Regions from separate parts of the Homo sapiens genome. Here region 2 is linked to region 1. The links are contacts of gene promoters, found by promoter capture Hi-C in human tissues and cell types (Jung and others, 2019). All regions are on one chromosome and are shown on one strand. Each heading gives the region's core, a stretch centred on a gene start or on the middle of the fragment in contact. The rest is flanking DNA. Distances are from core to core; before and after follow the strand shown.

The links. The method cuts DNA at HindIII sites, captures the fragments that hold promoters and counts their contacts. A contact is called where the count stands out against the background at its distance.
Region 2: a contact is called between a fragment that was not itself captured here and the fragment with the promoter of TRIM32 in region 1, in 1 of the 25 tissues and cell types used here (dorsolateral prefrontal cortex).

The regions. Positions count from the first base shown.
Region 1 is chr9:116,684,800-116,691,324 of GRCh38, forward strand. TRIM32 (tripartite motif containing 32) reads left to right here and starts at 2,506. Exons shown (of 2, transcript NM_012210.4): 1 at 2,506-2,582. All of the region lies in intron 16 of ASTN2 (astrotactin 2), which reads right to left. RefSeq lists enhancers at 2,173-2,492, 2,933-2,982 and a silencer at 2,563-2,762. The HindIII fragment of the contact is 20,788 bases long and covers 1-6,525 here.
Region 2 is chr9:115,597,660-115,604,184 of GRCh38, forward strand. The region is part of intron 2 of LOC105376235 (a long non-coding RNA gene); the gene reads left to right. Among named protein-coding and RNA genes, the nearest start is that of LINC00474, 320 kb to the right of the region's middle. The HindIII fragment of the contact is 4,569 bases long and covers 1,098-5,666 here.

The DNA of each region.
Region 1 (6,525 bases), core at 1,256-3,755:
AAGTGATGGACTGAAACTGCCTTTGCAAAATTATGATTGAGACAGTAAAAGAGATCTAACTTAACTGACTCCATCTTGCTTCTAACTTCCAAGCTGTCCTTGTTCATTCCTGGGCATAGGCTGAACTAACTTTGGGAGAAATTTAGTCTGTAGTTCATAGTTTAAACAAAGACAGTAACAACCCTATCCCAAAGCAGACCTCCTTGCCTGGGTACTAGATTGCCTTTGTAGGACTAACATTAGCCACAAGATTAGAAATTGCGGTTTAGGAGTCATGCAGCTGGAGGTTACAAGATGCTGAGCCTCCCTAAAATGCTTCTGAGATCAGTGCTTGAGATATTTTGCAGACCCTGCACTTGATGGATCAGCTGGCACCACCCAGATCAATAAACTCACTCATCTGATCTTGTGGCCCCCCCACTCAGGAACTGACTCACTGCAAGGAGACAGCTTCGACTCCCTATGATTTCATCCCTGACCAACAGCGCTCCTGGCTCACTGGCTTCCCCCAACCCACCAAGTTATCCTTAAAATCTCTGTTCCCCAAATGCTCAGGGAGATGACTTGAGTAATCATAAAACTCCAGTCTCCCGCACAGCTGACTCTGCGTGAATTACTCTTTAACTATTGCAATTCCCCTGTCTTGATGAATCAGCTCTGTCTAGGCAGTGGGCAAGGTAAACTCCTCAGGTGGTTCCACTGATATAGGTGATTTAAGTGTTAAATAAAAATCTGTTACATTAAAATGCTGAATAAAGAGTGTTTAAAGCACTCCACAAAGATTATTTTTTAAATGCCTCTGTGTAAGAGGAATTCTAATATTGTGCCAGGATATGTCAAGCTATAAGATAAAAATTGAGTGCATTTCCTAGAATGCTTATTCTACTCTAAGATTTTGTGAGAGGTATAATAATTCATTTAACTGGTAATAAACATTAAAGAAGAGTCAAACACTGATTTTTGTTTTAAGGGAGAAGAGAGATTTTTTTTTTTCAAGACACTTGCTTGAGCTAGATCCCCAGGAGTATTTTTAACACTCCTCTGTAATTAGGGAAACATCAGTATGTCTGTATTGATACATATACACACATATATAATATGTATATATGTAAGACTATGAACAGTCCTAAATTTATACTTTGGGCTGATAACTGTGGTTTTCAGGAAAAAAAAAAATTTTAAACGGGTGCAAAGTCTCCCCAACTGGTCTAAGTGAGAAATCATTTGGCATTACCTCTCCCTTATCCCCTACCTGCTAATTACAATTTTTCAAATATAGTTATCATTAAGTGCAAACTACCATAATCTTGGCTTATCTTCATGGCAAACTTCAATTAGAAATTTAGAAAATGGGGAGAAAGAGTAAACAAGGTTAAGAGAGTGGGTTCTCAGATAGAATTGGGTACAAATTTGGGCTCCAACACTTAGGTATATGTGGCCTTGTGTAACCACCTAGGTTACACAACAGGTGTAGGTTAACCATCAGCTGCCTTATCTCATTAGGTCCTTATGAGGATTTAGTGAGCTATGCACCTGAAGTCCTCAGCTGTAGCCAGACAGCAAGTGTTCAAAGATGTTAGTCATTGTTTTTGTTTATTGTTTTATCATTGTGCAGGGTCACATAGCTAAGGGGAATTTCAAATCCAAGTCCATCCTACTTCAAACTCCTTTGTGCTCCTAAGCTGTACAGTATAGTCACCTTGGAGAGTAGGTGATTGGCCCCAAACTACTTCAGGGACTGCAGGTCGTGGCCAGCCAGTCCTGTATCAGACCTCGTCCTTGCCAGATGCCTAGTGCCCCAGATTCCCTCAAATCTCAGGCCAGATCACCTCCCACCTGGTAAGATTCCTCCACCTTCACCCGAGCAAAACTACACTTGGTTTGGGTTCCCGGGTACCTTCAGTCTGCAGGGACAGGGGCTGCAGAGTGTACTCCCCAAGTCTGCCTCTGCTGTCGGCCTCCCAGCTGAGTAGGCAAAACATTCCTTTACAGAGCAATGTGTTCATGGATAAACTTGTCTCTAGTGCAGCTCTCTGTCAGAGCACAGAACATGAGGCCAAAGCACTGCCCTTCCTAGGGAGTCCCGGTTCTCGACTTCCCCAGAATGGAAGTTTGATTTTTCCGTTGGCCCATTTCTCAGATGGAAAAACAGATTCAGTAAGGTGCCAACGCTTTGCTGAGGACTACCCTGGAGGCTACCGTTTTGTGAAGGGGTAGACATTGAGACTGGAGTCAGATACGCATTCTGGCTTATCTCCTGACTTACTGAGTGAACTTGAGCAGGTCCCTTTCGCCCATGGGCGTCGGTTTCTTCATCTGCACCAAGGAGACGGAAAACTGGATTACGTGTCGCTAAGGCCCCGGGTTCTCAGAGGAAAGCTCACCCCTGCAGGGCCGCCTTGCCCCGCGCGCTTGGGGCCAGCTGCACGACAAGCCCCAGCATGCTGGGGAGGCGGGGCTCAGTGACGGACAGGGAGCTCTGCGAATTGGCGCCCGGCAAGGGGTGCTCAACGGCGCGTGCGCAGAGGGAGGCAGGCGGGTGGGCTGCCGGCGGTGGACTCGTCGGAGCCGCGGGCGGTCAGGTAGGGGGCGGGAAGGAGGGTTGGGGACTGGGGACCGCGGCCGGAGTCGTGGGCCGTGGCTCAGCGGCCAGGCGGGGGAACGTGCCGGCGTGCAGCGGCCGCGCCCGAATGGCAGGGTGTGGGGACCGGATCTGGGGGGGGCAGGACTAGGGTGGGGGTGGGGCTGCGAGGGGCAGGCTCGGGAGGGATTCGTGGGGCTGAGGAGATCCGAGGAGATGCAGCTGGGGGAGGGGAGCGAGGGGCTCTGAAGAGATTTGCGGTTGCAGCATCTCGGGAGGTATGAGGTAATGTCGGGGCCCTGAGGAGGAACGGGGTGTAGCATGTGGGAGATGGGAGGGAATCAGGGCCCTGGAGGGACCTGGGTGCAGAATTTCAGAAATATGAAGGAACTGGGGGGCCCCGATGAGATTTGAGGAAATCTGGGGGCGCTAGGCATCTGGCAAGGACAGGGTCTGAGATGATAGGAGCAAGGTCTAGGGCGATCCTAAGTGCTATTGAGAAAGGGTTTTCGGAGTGGGCTGAGGGTGAGATTGAGGGGGTGGGGTGAGTTCTTGAGGGACTCTATCTTGTTAGCAGAAAGAAGGGAGCTGGCTGAGGTGTGAAGGCAGCACATGACATTCAGTGCATAAGAGGAAGGAGCAGGGTATGAGGGCAGCACAGTGCCCGATGGAATGCAGGAGATGGGGGCTCAGATTGAGGGAGAGCAGAAATCTGGGGTGAGGAATTGGGGCGTTGAACTGAGGTGCGGGGCTGAGTGTGGCAGAGATTTGGAAATAGGGATTAAACGATCTGAGTCCGAGGGATTTGGGGCATATGAGTGAGGAATTGACGAGGGTTGCAATATACAGCCCCAAAGATTGGAATTTGGAATTGTAAGAGGGTTGGGGACAGGGTTTGGAGAGGATTGAATCGTGGGGTGGAGATGTCCTAACTGGGCTATAAAATCAAAGGACCCTGAGTAGATTTGTGGATTGGTGTCTTGGGCTGCTAAAGAGATTTTCCTTAAATCGCTGCATGGGAGACAGAGGGAGTTCAGGGGACCCAAGGACCTAAAAGTAATGTATGAAACTGGATGAGTATATGAAGATGAGCAGAGTTCAGGTGCTGAGGAACAAAGTGATAAATCTTCAGTTCAGATAATCCTGAAGGAGTGTGGTAATCCCTGTGAAGGGCAGAATCTTCTTCATTTATTAAACAAAGATCCGTTATCATGAGGCAGGTATGGTATTGCCACTAACTCCATTCTGACCACCGGTCCCCCGGCCCACTGAAAGTGGTAGGCTTTGGGGAAGAAGAAGTGGAACTATTCAAGGTCATCTGCCTAAGCCCTTTTTCCCTGTACCCCCAAGCTACGATAGCAGATAGAAAGTGAGACCTCCAGGGGAATGAGTGGAATAATTTATCCTATATAAGATCCATTACAGCTTGAAGGGGCAGTGGCTCTGTGAGTGAGGTGTTTGGGCTCGGAGACAGACAAAACAACAACAACAACCACCAGAAAAAAAAAAGGGAACCCTTAGGTATTGAGCATTTAGTCCTGTGCTAGACTGTAAAGCAGTGGTTCTTAACCAAGTCTGGCTTTGTCTCCTAGGAGACATTAGGCAATGTCTGGAGATGTTTTTTGGTTGTCACAGGGTGGGGGATACTACTGGCCTCAAGTGGGTAGATTAAACATTAAACATAATGTTTTATGTTAAACATTTGACAATGTGTGGGATACGCCCTTCCCCCCCGCAGTAAGGAATTATCCTGCCTAAAATGTCAGTAATGCCAAAGTTGAGGCACTCTGACCTAGAGTCAGATACCCTGGGTTCAAGTCCTAGCTCTATCTCTTCCTGACTTTAAGTCCTAGCTCTATCTCTTCCTGACTTTGTGGCCTTGAATGAGTTACTTAACCACCCAGTGCCTTGGCTCTTCATCTGTAAAATGGGGTTATGATAACAAGACCAATGTCACAGAATTGTTGTGAGGATTTAGTGAAGTAAACTAGCATGCCTAGGATCTGGCACATAGTAAGTTCTCAAAATCTAGTAATTTTTAGTCTTGTATCTACTTCTTTACTCAGTTTTCATGACAGTCCTTCTAAGTAGGCTCTACTGTATTCAGTTTTACACATGAGGAAACTAAGGCTTAGGAAGTGACTTGCCTAAGTTTCCATAGCTAGGAATGACACAGTTAAGCTCATACCCAGATCTCTGTAACTCCGTATATTCCCGCTTTCCTTGCTTCTTCCTTGCTAGGGCCTGCTTAGTCTTATTTTCTCAGCCCATTCCCCTCTAATGAAAAAGAGGATTGCCAGTGAGTATCACTGACTATCAGATTGAACTCTAAAGTTGGGGGGTAAATCTCTCTGATTAGGTAGGGAGGAGCCCTGGACTTTGTTCTTGGTTTGCCCTTAGACCAAGACCTGGGGCTAGATAAGGAGAGGAGCCTGAGGTTATCAGGCAGGATGAGGTGCAACGGACTATAGGGTGAGGTATGGAGGCCATTGGCTTGAAAAAACACCTCATAGCAGGGACTGAGGCTGAAGGCAGTCATACTCTGAAGGAGAGTAACTACTGTTCTGTATGGTCTCTTTTGGTCTGCTTTTCCCTGGAACAGAATTTGGCTCTATCATTTCCAGGACTAGCTACAGGGTTGCTGAAGCCAGTTCAGAAACAAAGCTAGACTGTGTCTGACAGCAAGACTTAGCTGGAATATCTGTGCACATCCCTAAAAGAAAATATGTCATGGGAATTAAATCAGCCCTGTCTAAACTCCTTACTCTAATTTCCTATGTTACCTTGTCAGTAGCTACGGCACTTGTCCTGTCAGCCTCAATCTATTAAAAATGCAAATGATTATAATTTGTTGAGTGCTTATTATGTGCATTATCTTAGTGAATTCAATCCTGCTAACAGTCTAGGTTTTATTCCTTGTTTACAGATAAGAAAAATAACAGGTTAAATGACTTACCCAGGGCTACAGAGCAAGTAGCTAGGTTGGGATACAAACCCAGTTCTGTCTTACACCTATGTTACATTATAGTAGTTTTATTAGAAGCCTTTTCCAACCCTTCAGAGCCCCTATGTTTATGTCTGGAGAATAGTTGGAAGCCAGAAGTTTATAAGGCCCTTAAAGTAGATCATTGTCTATGCACACTGATGTGTAACCTTTGTGACATTCCCTCCATCTTGTCTTTCTGGTAAAACAATCAAATTTAAAAATCATTTCTAGGTGCCCTTACCAACCTCTCAGCCAGACTTTGTCTAAAGCTAGGGAACTATGAAACATCCTTTAAGTTAGTAATTTTATGGCTGGGAGTTGATACTGGGATTTGAATCCTTGCTCTATTACTTATTGGTTTTGAGACCTTGGACAGGCTACTTTCTCTGAGCATTGGTTTCCTTATTTTTGAAGAGGAATCACACTTACTTTACATGGTTATTATGAGACTATGAGAACATATAAAAAAATGCCTGACAATAAATAGTAGTTGCTTTAAGAGTGTTAGCAATTATGAGAGGAAGGCAGTGCTGGAAGAGAACTAAGTGTTGCTTTGTCATATTTATTTATTTATACAGGGTCTTGCTGTGTCACCCAGGCTGGAGTGCAGTGGTGCAATCACAGTTCACTGCAGCCTCAACCTCCTAGGCTCAAGTGATCCTCCCATCTCAGCCTCCCAAGTAGCTGGGACCACAAGTGCATGCCACCACACCTGATTATCTTTTAAATTTATTGTAGAGATGGTGTTTCACTCTGTTGCTCAGGCTCTTTGCCAGATTTTGATAACCCTAAGTAGTCTCTGCTAGTCTCCCCAAAATTCTCATCCCATTTTGTATATTTCCTAGGATCTCCTTGATCCTTTAATCATAATCTCATGATTAAATGAACAGATGTTATATGCAGAGAAAGGAATTGAAAGAGAGAGAGGGTTGAGGTTAGTTGGAGGTCCCTGAGAAGG
Region 2 (6,525 bases), core at 2,132-4,631, 1.1 Mb before region 1:
CCCCCACGGAGCAATTAAACCATCTGACCAAGAAGGTAGTTAGCACGGGGTTTAAGGAAGGTAGGTTAAGGAGTAGGAGAGAACTGAATTGGAGCCCAGCTGCTCTACTGACTAGCTCTTGATGTTGGTCAAGTGCCCAACACTTGTATTTAAACTCAAGTATGTTTTCCACACGTACAAAAATGGAGACAACCTACTTCATTTACCTTTGTGGTGAGGAGCTAGCAAATGTTAAGCACTTCAAATGATATCTGGCACACAGCAAATTTGGTTACTGTTATTTTTTCAAGAATAGCCCCAAGAGGGTACATGCTTAGGACCATAGGACTTCAGTAGAGTAAGAGGGCACAGTGAGCTGGTAAAAACCATGCTTTTCACCTGGGTGGGTTAGGCTCCCACCTCTTTCCCTCACTAATAACAGATTAGTATTGCATACACAGTTCTGGCCCAGTGCAAGGATTACCTGTCCCATGAAGCCTTCTAAATTCCATCTCCCTCCTCTTGTCCACCTCCAGAAGTGGCCATTCTTCTCTCTGAGTTTCTGGGGCACTGTGTGTCTCTTGTCTGTGTCAGTGAGCACTCTCTGGTGCCACAGAAATTGATACTCATGCTTCATTTTTCATGCCTGGACATGGTATCCTTTAGGACACAGACCATGGCTTTTACCTCTTAATCTATCTTTTGGGACAAGTTTATCAATTCAATATACATGAAATAAACAGATTGGCAAATGAGTCATCTGTCAAATGCATACTATAGTAATTTTTTTGGAGTTTATGGGATTGTGAAGTAAATGTCATGAGCAAAGAGACATGATGAACCTTTGAAACTGATTTGGTCTCTTCAGAATATCCAGTAAGATATTTTAGACAGTAGTTTTAAACTTGGTTCAGCCATTCAGAAGGAAGTAAGACCATTGATTTGTATCAGACACCGTAGAATTCTTAAATTGCAAAGGGATATACTAAGTAAACAAAAGGAGAGGCTTGCTCATACCCTGAATTAGTTGTCAAAATTGTCAAAGTAACTCAATGTTGTTGATTGCTGTCAAAGAACAGACTGAAAGAAAAACAACTATGTCTCAAATGCCCAGCAACTGAGTGGGTAGAGAGGTTTTATTGTGCTGGTCATAAATAGTTTTCACAAAGTTAGAGTGCTTACTTGAACCCTGCTTGAACTAGCTGGATGCTGGTGCATTCACTACTGAGAGAAGAATTTCTTAAAGGGTTTGGGTTGCTCCCACTTCTTGTCATGGAGTCAGCCAATTTTTATGTCTGTTTATTACTTTGTAGCCCAGCTGGACCCCAGAAGGATGGGCTATTTTCCCCAGAAGGATGGAAAATAACACAAATGCACACAGTTACCAAAATGAAGCCAGAAATCTTCTGGAGCTTAGACAAACATTAGTCTTGTAAATAAATACATTATGAGACCACACAAATACTTCCTACCAGGTCTCTTCCTCAGAAGTCACACTCCAGATAGCTTCTTTAATTTGCCCAGGTTCATATAATTAAGACATATTTATTGATTACCTACTGGGTGACAAACCCTAAGCTATATATTCCCAGAGACATAGTGACAAACTCTCTTGTTTCTTCTACAGAGTTAGAGGTACATATGTAGAAACAAATGCACAAACCTAAGTCAATTAGCAGCAAATGCAAGCCAGGATGAATACCAGCTTGTGATATGTTGGGATACAGATTGCCAAGGAAGGGGTCTGAGTCCCATCACTGCTACCAACTTGCTGGATGAGCATTTATCCATTTATTCATTTCATTAAAAACAACAACAACAACTAAACATAGTAGGTCAGGCCCTGTGCTAGGCACTGAGGGTAGCTTCAACAAGTCATTTAATTTGTTTATTTATTCACTTATTGAAGAGTTAATGAAAATGTAATAGGCGAGGCACTGTGCTAAGTGCTGAAGAAAGGGGAAGACACAGTCCCTGCCCTCTGGGGGTCAGGCTCCTCATCAGTACAATGGTGTGTACTGGGGAAAAGAAAGTAGAGGATCCATTGGTCTCTAATGTTCTTTCTGCCAAGAATATGCTAAGCAGTGGATTGGAGGATATTATGGTTCATTCGCTAAGTGTCAGGTCAAGATGATGAATGGTCATTTGTAAAAATGGAATAAACCACTAGACCTTGAATTATAGACTTTTGCATGGGGATCTTCTGAGAGCCTCAAGCACAGCACTTGTATGCCTATGCATTCCTTTAGGAATACAAGTCAATTCTGTTCGTCTTCTTGTACATACACATCTCTTTATAGTTTACAATGCACTTCCATGTGGAGTTTTATTTGCTCTACATAACAACTTTATGAAGTCAGGGTTTTAACATGCTCTTTTTAAAGATAAAGAACCAAGTCCACAAGAAACTGAATTTACTTACTAGTGTCAGTGAGGAGTAGAGCTGGGACCAGAGCCCATGTTTCTGACTTCATAGTCTGGTTCTCCTGCAGTGACAGCAATATTCATTCATTTGGTGGGTGTATTTTGAGGACAAGTTATGGCTCAGGTTTTGAGGACCAGTTATGGCCCAGGTTTTATGAGGTCCTGGAGAAGTCCTGAAGAACCAGGCAGCAATTTCAATGGTTTTACAGTCAGCTCTCTAATTCTTGTCTGAAATTAACAGGAATTCACACTGCTTTGTAGTTTACAGTTTTACATAGAATTTAAAGCAAAAGCTGCTAGGATCAGAAGTTCCTTCAGGCCGGGTGCCAGGTAGGAAAATCAACACTTTGTGTGAAGTACTTGATGAAACACTTTTATATCTTCATATCAATTTGATTAATGCATCATATAGAATATTATCTCTATTTATTGACAATGAAGTATAGATTCTGAGAGACTCAAAATTATACACGTGGTTAATAGAATATCTATAATTTAATCCCAAGTCACTTGAGTCTCTGTCAAGCAGTGCTTTGTTATGTTCAATCCTTAAACTACACTCCATCCATCTGCACCATATTTAGTGCCTGGGAGGGTACTTTACCTAGAGCAGTAGCTCGTGTCAATTGGGCACAGAGTAATTTCATTTCTGAATGGGCCACACATTCAGCTTCTAGCATCTAACTGTCACCAAGTCTGAAAGGTATCTTTCCTCCTGGAAAGAAGAGCACAGTGAGAGTGTGAAATGTGGAGAAGGATTGAGAAGAAAAGATAAAGGAATTATACAGAAGGAGAGGAAGAAAGACCAAGGGCTTTGGGGTTAGATCGACCAGGGTTTGATCTTAATGTTGTTACTGACTTACGTACAACTTAGATCAAGCATTTCAACTTTCACAGATTATGGGGTGGTTAGGAGAATTAAGGGCAATAATATTTGGTGAACATTTAGCACAGTGCCTGGTCTATAAAAAAATACTCCATAAATATGAGTTATTTTTATTATTCAAGGCAGAGAGAAGGTAGGGTCAAATACAGGGTTGTAAGGAAGTACGTGATATATTTGGGGGGAACTTTGAGAAATATAGAAAGATAAAATATGGGGAATGTGTGGGACATAGGAGGAGATGAAGTTGAAATAATACTATGGTGCCAATTTCAAAGGGCTGTCAATGTCAATCTAAGAGATTAGGGCCTATTCTGTTGTTACAAGTGGGCTATAACCAGCTGAGTGTTTTATAAACATCACTGTGAGAATGGACTGGAGTAGGGAAAAGAGTATACATGGAGAGATGTTGAGAAGCTAGATCAAGATAGAGTAGCATTTACATGGCGCCTTTCCCCCTGACTTGCCTTTAACAATACCTGAAATCAAAAGCGCCTGATGCCTAATTGTATAAACCTGAACCCCTCTGAGTTAGTCCAAGACACAAATCTTCATCCACTGCATCGTTGGAAAGGATATATACATATATTTTATAATGCATTAGCCTTTTTGGACTGTGTCCACGTCATAGAGGTTTTCTAATCTATTTTGAGCCCTAATTGATTACAGCATTTGGAAAAATGCACAGCAAATTGCTCCATTAATCAAGGTAAATCAAGCTGATGTCATAGATGCTAAATATATGTCTTTGCAGTAATACTATTTGCATGACTGGAGCTAAAGCTGTTGTCAGTTTTTCCACTTGACAGTCACTGTCTTCTCATGAGACCATGGCTTAATCTCTAAAAGCACTTGGTGGTTCTTCTCCATGGCTGGGTTCTTGGGTCCTTCTCCCCACATTTAAGGCAAAGGTTGTAGGAGAGGGTGAGACTGCCTCCTTATGTACAGAAAAAGGCAGTGAGAAGGAGGTCATAGCACAAAGGCTAGGAAGATGGGGAAGGAGATAGGGAAGGCAAAGGATTTTATGAAACCAGAAGGACCCTATTTTATGAAGTCAGAAGGACCCTGGCATGTCACATTCCTTGGCTGATGAGAGAATTGAGGAATTAGAGCTTTGTTGAGATAGAGATCACAGTATGGAAGAAGGCACAAAGACCATCCAGTCTTCCTGATAAGACCTCTGAAGCACACAGATAGAAAGGAATTTATCAGAGATCACACAGAAAATTACTCTCGGAGCTGGTATTATACTAAGAATCGGGTGTCCTGACTCCTCATGTAGTGCTCTTTCTACATGATAGAAAGCATTGTTGTCTTACATTTTTTCTCCTTTCTCACTTTCATCCCTAATATTTATCATTATCTTAAGGTTCAATATGTGCCAAGTTGTGTAATAAGTGCTCAATATTATTACAATGAGGTAAGATTAATATTACTTTTATTTTCATTCTTAAAATGAGAAAATGGAGACTCAAAGAGGTGAAGTAACTTGACCAAAGGAGCTCTGCTACTCAGGGATAATGGAGATTCAAATGGGAATATCTAACTCATATGCCTGGGACTAAATCATCATGCTGGACATCATTATCACTTTTCCAGCATTTTTGCATACCTTTCTGAACAACTCTTTTAACCCGGTGCTATGGGCTTCATACACAGTATTTTTAAACTTCATAATGACACTGGCAGACATAGAATATTATTATCTTGCTAGTTCTGGTGAAGTAACTTGTCAAAGTCTCACAGTTAGGAGGTTTCAGAATCAGCCATCAAACCCATCGTCCATTTGGTGAGGCTGGGTAAGGTGGTATATGGCAATGGAGATAAGAGATGGAAGAACTAAAACTCAGCTCTTCCCCTGAATGACTGTGTCCTATTCCTGATGAAGTGACTTTGCCTTTTTGTGTCCCAGTTAGCACATTTGTACCATGAAGATACTGAGGCTGCCATCATGCTCTGTTATTCTAAGAGAAAGATCAACAGCAACAACAACAATAATAATTTAAAAAGCAGAGGAAGAAAGTAATCCAAGAAGACAGACGCAGAGCCTCTAAGATCATGAAGGATGATTAAAAGAACAAGTTGGGGATGAAAATGGGGAATCAGAAAGCTTATCATCAGGTTAGTTTTGGAAGGTCATCTGTGGCCTGGGCGGTGCCCCATTAAGACTAGATCAAAAGCAGGACAGTGATGCAATCGGCTGTTTGTATACAGATGCTGGCCTCCAAATCCCCACATGGGAACATCTGCTGGGGACAACCACTTAACAAATAAGCAGGCAATTAGGTAGCAGATCCATCTGTGCCAAGAGCATGGGACCACCAGCGGCGGGGAGGCTGCAGCAGAGGGGAGAGCCATGCTGGGAAGAATGCTTTTGCGTTTGTGCAAGAGTCACACTATCTAAGGCAGGAGAAAGGAGAGAGGACCAGGTGCAGAAGTCAGGAGAGAAGATCATTTTCTGCTTGTTCTGGGGCTAGCTCCATGATGCTCAGCCTTGACTATACATTATAATCACCTGGAGATTTTAAATATACTGATGCCCAGGTTGTACTTCAAAACAATCTAATCAGAGTTTCTAGGAAGGGGATCAGCATCGTTGTTTTCTAAAAGTTTCTTAAGGTTACCTAGGTAACTCCAATGTATAGGCAAGCTTGAAAATCACTGGTTTAAAATCTCTAAACCTACCACTGGATTGGTGGCAGAATAATAGCGATCATTATAAAGCTATAGTATTTATCCCACTATGCTTCTCTTTAGAATAACTGCAAATATGCATTTTGAGTTTATAAAATTCTCATTCCAGTGGTCTAGGACTCAAGCAAACTCCATGTATTCTCTAAAACAAATGCTATCTATTCCTATCTCTGCTACTAGCTGACCTTAAGCAAGCTGATTATCTCTCCAAGATTTCACTACTTTATCTCTTTTCTGATAGAGTTGTTTCTTGGGAAGCAAAATGTGATTTTGTAAAGTGTTTAGAACATGACTGTAACATAATAAATGCTTACTAAATGTTGGTTGAACTTCAATCTGATTCATGAAGAAGAAGAAGAGGCAAAGACAAAGAAAAAATGAATGAGGGAAGAAAGGAAGGAAGGAAGAGGGAAAGAAGGAAGGAAAGAAAGAAGGAAGGAAGAAAGGAAGGAAGGAAGGGAAAAAGAAAGACAGAAAGAACAAAAGAAAGAAAAAGACTTGAGGAGGTCATCTTAGGCATTGTTCTTGATGCTTTTCCTTTCATT